2 separate regions of the Homo sapiens genome follow, and region 2 is linked to region 1. The links are contacts of gene promoters, found by promoter capture Hi-C in blood cells and fetal thymus (Javierre and others, 2016). All regions are on one chromosome and are shown on one strand. Each heading gives the region's core, a stretch centred on a gene start or on the middle of the fragment in contact. The rest is flanking DNA. Distances are from core to core; before and after follow the strand shown.

What was found. The method cuts DNA at HindIII sites, captures the fragments that hold promoters and counts their contacts. A CHiCAGO score of 5 or more calls a contact.
Region 2: a contact is called between the fragment with the promoter of RPL7 here and the fragment with the promoter of SNX16 in region 1, in 4 of 17 cell types (total B cells, total CD4 T cells, total CD8 T cells and 1 more). The highest score is 6.7, in total B cells.

Annotation. Positions count from the first base shown.
Region 1 is chr8:81,840,311-81,843,868 of GRCh38, reverse strand. SNX16 (sorting nexin 16) reads left to right here and starts at 1,684. Exons shown (of 8, transcript NM_152836.3): 1 at 1,684-1,747. It overlaps LINC02235 (long intergenic non-protein coding RNA 2235), which reads right to left and starts at 1,250. Exons shown (of 8, transcript NR_170320.1): 1 at 1,198-1,250. RefSeq lists enhancers at 1,000-1,269, 1,701-1,750, 1,678-2,610 and a silencer at 2,081-2,130. The HindIII fragment of the contact is 7,243 bases long and covers 1-3,457 here.
Region 2 is chr8:73,292,085-73,295,642 of GRCh38, reverse strand. RPL7 (ribosomal protein L7) reads left to right here and starts at 2,010. Exons shown (of 7, transcript NM_000971.4): 1 at 2,010-2,044; 2 at 2,846-2,954; 3 at 3,238-3,404. The coding sequence starts at 2,031. It overlaps RDH10 (retinol dehydrogenase 10), which reads right to left and starts at 1,041. Exons shown (of 6, transcript NM_172037.5): 1 at 65-1,041. The coding sequence starts at 353. RefSeq lists a silencer at 349-1,308 and enhancers at 1,399-1,888, 1,342-2,049, 2,009-2,368, 2,379-2,428, 2,050-2,758. The HindIII fragment of the contact is 6,100 bases long and covers 1-3,260 here.

The DNA.
Region 1 (3,558 bases), core at 435-2,934:
TATTTCATTCACACTAAAAGGGCAGAATCTCTTAAACCAAAACCATCATCATGTCACAAACCAGACTATTTTCCAACCTTCATTTCAAAATGACCACTATCACCTTTTCTCACTCTTAGTCGGGCAGTAGAATAGGGTCCGGAGGCAGGGAACCTAAGGCCCATTCACGCTGACTTCCTAGAACTAAATCAAAAGGAAAACTCCAACTTTCCAAGCCCAAGTAACAAAAAGACCAGAGGCTATTCCCTTTGCAACCCCCTGCCCAACCTTCTAGGCCCTTGGTATCTGGGCCTAGTCTTCATTTCCATAGGAGTACAACTTTGTAACTTAACTTTAGCCTCTGATTGGTTGCAGGCTACTCCTTAATTTACAGAGGGTGTAAACCAAGTAACCAATGGGAAATCTCTAGCGGATATTTAAACTCCAGAAAATCCTGTAACCAGGGCTCTTGAGCCACTGGCTGGAGGCCATTCCCACTCTGTGGAGTGTACAGTCATTTCAATCTCTGCTTTCCTTGCTTCATTCTTTCCTTGCTTTCTTTGTGCGTTTTGTCCAATTCTTTGTTAAAAAAACCAAGAACCTGGATGACTTGTAGTCAAGACCCTCCATGGGTAACATTGGGACTATACAAAAGCCTTAGAAATCGTGGAATGATTTTTCAACCACATTATCTGATTCTAATGATGAACAGACCTGTAGACCGGTCTGAATCTTGGGATTTGCCTATCAAAAAACTCGGCTTTCCCTACTGCACAGGTCTTCAGAAGCGCATGTCTAACAAGGCTAATATTCCATCATCGGGATCAAATTGCTCACCGGATAGTAAAAAGACACTACAGAATTTCAGGGGTTCTCTGCCAATGAGAACTTCTGAATTATGTAGAACGGATCAGCTACTAAGCAGTGTTCTATCTTCCTACTCTTCTAATCGATTGTCATCCCTTAAAGCGCTGCTAATTCTAGAAAACAATCTATAACCTGTTAGAATCAGCGCAAGCTGGTGATGACTACAAGTCCCATGATGCAAAGTATGAGCACGGACCAATGTTGGTCGCAGTTCCTTCTGGGAATTGTAGTCTTCTCCTGTTTGGCAAACTAGGTATTGTAGCCTCCATTTCTCAGAAGTTCAGTTGGAAAACTAAAGATAGTGCAGAGAATGTCGATTTCCTGCCACAAGATTACATTTATCTTCGCTACCTGAGCGCCCAGCCGATCAACTCCAGTCGCTCCTCCGGTGGGCGGGCGCCCATGCCGTGACATCACTTCCGGCAGAGATGTGTGTGTGACGCTCTCTCTCTCTCTCTCTCGCTCTCGCTCTCTCCCTCGCTCGTTTTCTTTCTCTTTCTCTCTCTCTCTCTCTCTCTCTCTCTCTCTCTCTCTCTCTCTCTCTCTCTCTCTCTGTCTCTCGCTCTTGCCCTCTCTCTCTCTCTTTCTCTCTGTCTCTGTCTCTCTCTCTCTCTCTCTCTCTCTCTCTCTCTCTCTCTCCCTCCCTCCCTCCCTCCCTCCCTCTCTCTCTCTCTCTCTCCCCCCCCCCCCCCCCCCGCCCAGTTCGGCCCCTCCTTCCACACAGCAGGGATCTTGGGCCCGGGCAGAGACTGGCTGAGGCGGGGAGCAGCTGCTTTTGGGGCGGGGGTGTCACGTGAGGCTTCTCGCTGCTGAGGGAGGAGGCGAAAAGCTGCGGTTAAGGAGAGTCCGGTTTAACCGTCACCGGGAAGCGCGCTCGTTCGGGATCGCCGAGGGGGCTGAGGTAAAGACTGGGTCATTACCTCAGGACAGGCGGTCGCTGTCCCGGGTTCTCGTACGGGTGACACCTGCAACCTTGATGTCTGGCGGGCGGCAAGGGGCTCCGCGGGAGAGTGGAGAGGCGCCGCAGGAAGCCCAGCCACCTTCAGGCCACCGCCGACCCCACTGTGCGTCTGGGAGGCGCTGGGCGCGCACCGGTCAGCGGAGGCGGGAGAGTCTGTGATCCCAGGGAGCTGCGGGTCTCGCCGCCTGCAGTGCGGAAGACCCGTGACCGGCGCAGACCCCGGCCTTACCTTCCGAGGGTCGAACTGTGCCTGGTATTTGCCTCTTTCCTCCCGCCCACGGGGTTGCTCAGAGTCGGGCCACCTCACCTGAGGTTTTCCAGAGTGAGAATGAACTGAGCGTCCTGGGAGCAACTCCGCATCAGGGTAGAGGCGAAGACGCTCCTAATGAGCACAGCACGTTTTTTTGTTTGTTTGTTTGCTTGTTTTGTTTTTTTAACGCTTGGGTAGCGCTCACATCTTCGGACGTCAGTGGTTGTGTTGATATGTATTGATATGCGACCTCCCCCCAGCCAGGCGGCCTCAGGTAGTAGAGTGGCAAAGGCCAGGTAGATCCCTCGGACCTTGAGAAGGTTGAGATTTCAGACTTACTTGTTTTTGGGGAGGCCGTCAGGCGGAACCGAGGAGCGGTGAATCAGCAGCTAAAGTTTCATGAATCTTTGATAATGGGGAAATGTTGCCGAGAGCCACTTGAGTTAAAAATCTTTTTTTTTTTTTTTTTTGAGACGGAGTTTTCCTCTTGTAGCCCAGGCTGGAGTGCAATGGCACGATCTCGGCAAACTGCAACCTCCGCCTCCCGGGTTCAAGCGATTCTCCTGCCTCAGCCTCCCAAGTAGCTGGGATTATAGGCCTGCGCCACCATGCCCGGCTAATTTTTGTATTTTTAGTAGAGACGGGGTTTCACCATGTTGGCCAGGCTAGCCTCGAACTCCTGACCTCAGGCGATCCACCCGCTTCATCCTCCCAAAGTGCTGGGATTACAGGCGTGAGCCACAGCGCCCAGCCCAGAGTTAAAAATCTTATTTCAGCATCTTTCCAAGTCCAGGTGACTCATTTCTTACCTTTCCCACCAGTAGAGTTTCGTATGAAAAGTTGGGCAGTTATTGTTGTGTGTAGTCTTGTCATTTTGTTGGTCTGTAGTTGTTACAGTTTCTTATGAGTTTATTATTTAACAAAGTAATAGTAAACCATTTCTTCTTTGTGTTATGATACTATTCTGACACAAGATATACTGGTCCGTTTGATAACAGATTCTTGAGTGTAAGTTATAAAGATTTAAATACCCTCAGTTTATCGTAGAGCAGAATTAGTGATGACCTGTAAGCTGTGAAGAACGGTTACAATTTTCACTATTTAATTTTGTTGCATATAAGTTCAGTGTTCACTGGGTTTTATTTGAGTAACTTGACCAAGTGTGTATTTTTAATCCTGGGTTCTATAGAATTATACTATGTAGCATCAAAGCATCTGGTTCATTGTTACTACTCTGTGTAAATCTTTATAGTTTCACTAATTAAATTGAAAGGTAATGTGAATAGATTTCCTCCCTTTCTGATTAAATCCAGAGGTAATGTAAATAGTTTTCTTCCTTTTCTTTTTTCTCTCTTGTACTGAATGTAGTACTGTCAAGATGATAAGCATGGAATAAAGCTTCAGAAGGGTCTTTACCAATCTTTCTCCTACCAACTTTTACATACATGAAATCAGGTTAAAATGAACTTTACAGAAATACTTCACAAGGGAATAAAGTAGA
Region 2 (3,558 bases), core at 761-3,260, 8.5 Mb after region 1:
CGTGGTAGGGCGCGGGGTGGAAAGAGGCTTGACCCAACAATGCTCCCGCGCGGGTCCAGGTTACCTTGCAGCGCAGCGGCGTCGGCCGCCTCCAGGTCGCGGTAGATGTGGCGCACCATGCCAGCCGTCTCCTCGTTGCTTTGCGTGTTGATGTCCCACAGCACCAGCAGCGCCCGACGCCGGGCGAACTCCAGCGCGAAGAGGCGGCCCAGGCCGCTGCCGGCGCCGGTGATGAGGCACACCTGGCCCGCCACGCTCTTCTCCTTGGGCCGCACCAGCCAGCGCGCCGCGGCCAGCACGAACGCCCAGAGCACTTTGAAAGTGACCACGAAGAACTCCACCACGATGTTCATCGCGACGCCCGGGGCCCCGCACGAGCCCAGTGCCTGCGTCCGCGCCCACCCCGAGCCCGGCAATCGGGCTCCCGGCTCCGGGGCGCTTGTCACAGAGGCCGGGACGAGAAGGCTGCGCCCCGCGCCCGCCCCCGAGGTGCCCGCCGGGTTGGAGTGCGCGGCGCCGCTCCCTGCCTGCGCGGGGCCACTCCCGCCCGGGCTCGGCGCTGTGGCCCCGGACTGTGCCCGCCGCGGCAGTCACCCGGCTCGGCGCCTCCTGCCGGCAGCCGCCCGCCCGTCCCGCAGCGCCCGGCCGGCCGGCTCCGCTGCAGTGGCGGTGACAGCCGCGAGTTAGACTACTCGAACTGCCCTCATGGCCAAGCTGCTGCCGCCCGAGCGTCCCCGGAACCGGCGCGCCGGCTCCCTCTCACCCCGGGGGAGGGGTGCGCAGCGGAGGCGGCACGGGCCAGCGGGCTGCCGCGGGAGTTGTCAACTCGACCCAAGTTGCGAGAGGGTGGGAGAGTGGGGTGCGGGGCGGCGGAGCGCCGGGAAGGGGAGACTCGCTCGGCGCAGGCAAGCGCTGCCCAACGCCTTGCAGCTGCCCCCGAGGGCTCGCGTTCCCCGGCCCTGCACTCTCCGCGGGTGTCACTCGGGCACTGGGCTCCGCAGCGCAGCCCGCTTGCAAGTCAGAGCGCTCCGGGCCGGCTCTGAGCGGGCTCCACGCTCCGCGCTATATAACCCCGCGACCGGGAAGAGCCCGCGCCAGCCTCGGCATCGGCCCTCCCTCCGCCCGGCCTCCCCGCCCCCGGGCGCACCCCGCCCCCGGCCCAGCCCCCAGCCCGCCAGCCGTCCGCGGAGCCGAGCCGGGTAGCCCCTCTCACACGGCCGTGGCCGCAACCTCAGCCCTCCTCGCACCTCCCTTCGCAGCTCACGCCCCCTCCCGTGGGGTGTCCTGGCCTCCGCCTGCCGAGCTCGGCAGTCAGCAGAGCCCCGGCCATCCTCCTCCGGCCGTCCGGTCCCCACTGGTCCCTGGCTAGCCACTTTTCGTAAGCTAGAGCACTCCAGACCGCCCCGCCTGCGATCAGGCGCTGCGGAAGACAGCCCTGTGGGCTGGAGCGACGACAAGGACCTCGCGGAGCGGCGAAAGGGGTGTAGTCTGCGACTACCGCGGCAGGGAGCCGGGAGGGCGGCCAAAAGTGACTTCGAATTGCAGCTAGCCGTTTGGAACGTGGCCCAAGAGGCTCTCATTTTCCTGGCTGGAACCGTCGCCGCGGTGCTTGCCTGCGGTCCTGGTCAGCCGTTGCCCTCCCGCCGGGCGGGCGAAGACTGGTGCATGCTGGGATTTGTAGTTCGTCCCCATGAGGCTCGTCCTGGGAACATTATGGGGAGGAACGGAGCCTAATCCTGTCAGCGCAGCCTGGGGATTAGGACCCGGAGTTGCCAAGGTGTCAGCACTCTTTGCTCTTGAATTGATTAAAAAGTCTAATCAAATGCATATATTTTCTTCAAACAAGTTTTACCCGAAAGTTTGTTGAAAGAGGCTAAATCAGGGAGTTCTTTGCGTCTGCAAGGCGGCTTTTTAGTTCTGGATTCTTTTCCGGCTTATTCTAAGACACCTATGAGTCGTGGGGCTTCTCTCGCGAAGTCTTTAAGTGGACAGTACGCATGCGCCAACTTCCTCTTTTTCCGGCTGGAACCATGGAGGGTGTAGAGTGAGTTGCTTCTGGTCCTCTTGAGAATCCTTCTCCATCTCCAGAGCCAGATACTTTTTGTGTCACTTTTTCTCTCTCTGGCCGTAGCTTGCACCTTTGCCCACCTCCCTGCTTGATTGTGAACGCTGTGTGACACCAGTGGGGACCTGAGGCTAGGGTTGGGATGCGGGCGGTCTTAGGACGGAGGTTTTGGAGATCCCGGGAACGAGATGTCGGGTTGGAATGTGTGTGGAACCCGTCGGTTGGCTGACGGCCCAGTCCTCGGTAGAGGGTCTTTCGGGGGAGGCGCAGAACCTCTGAATTGTGTTCGTCCTTGGCTGGTGCTTGGTACAGGCCTCCCTGCCGCCAGGCCTTTGCTTTCAACATGTGGATCCTGATTGAACCAGAGTGGTGGTGGCTTGTTTTTTTTTTATTTTTATTTTTTAATTTTTGCGCTTAAAGTCTCGGGGTCAGTGCCTTGCAGTAGTCTTTCAGCTAGTACATTTTGTTATTCGGGTGTTGGTGTGTTTTTTTTGTTTTTTTTTTTAATTAGTCGTCGGAGGCCGGGCCTCTTGGTTGAAATAGGGAAAAACGTATTGCTATTGTCATATTTGTGATTGCGTTTTAGGCAACATGGTGTTAAAGGTTATTGACATGGAGCTAAAATATGCATCGTACACTGTAGCATGCCAGAGCAAGTAAAGTTACTAGTGACTAAAGTCAGTGACAGCATTTCTGGTAAACAACACTGCTCAGTACGGGAGTAATACAGCGCTGTGAGCTTTTTGAGCTATTGATAACATTTTTGTTTATTAACGTTAGAGAGAAGAAGAAGGAGGTTCCTGCTGTGCCAGAAACCCTTAAGAAAAAGCGAAGGAATTTCGCAGAGCTGAAGATCAAGCGCCTGAGAAAGAAGTTTGCCCAAAAGATGGTAAGTAAACTTTTTGAGGCACTAGCACATAAGGAGGCGCCTTATTGGGATTGAGGATGAGGTGAATGTTCTTGGCAAGATTTACTTCCTAACTGTACTGAGTAATTGCTTAGCTACCTAATGTTACAATCTGAAGGTAGTGGGGTTTTTTGGTGGGGGATGTAATTGCATACTGTGGCAAGAAAAGATTTAAAGGAAACATGTTGTAGTTTTCTTTTTAATGATTGGCATTGCTAATTGTGATTGAGCTAAAAATTATGAATAACTGATTATTGGTTTTCAGCTTCGAAAGGCAAGGAGGAAGCTTATCTATGAAAAAGCAAAGCACTATCACAAGGAATATAGGCAGATGTACAGAACTGAAATTCGAATGGCGAGGATGGCAAGAAAAGCTGGCAACTTCTATGTACCTGCAGAACCCAAATTGGCGTTTGTCATCAGAATCAGAGGGTAAGTTCAGTTTTACTGCATTCGGGTTTGAATGGGAAAAAAAAAAAAAACCTTCACATTACTTCTGGGAGCCCTGATTCTGAAACACCGGAGTAACAATATTTTAGGGGAAGCTAGAACAAGGAGGGTGCTGATCACTAATGGTTTAGTTGCA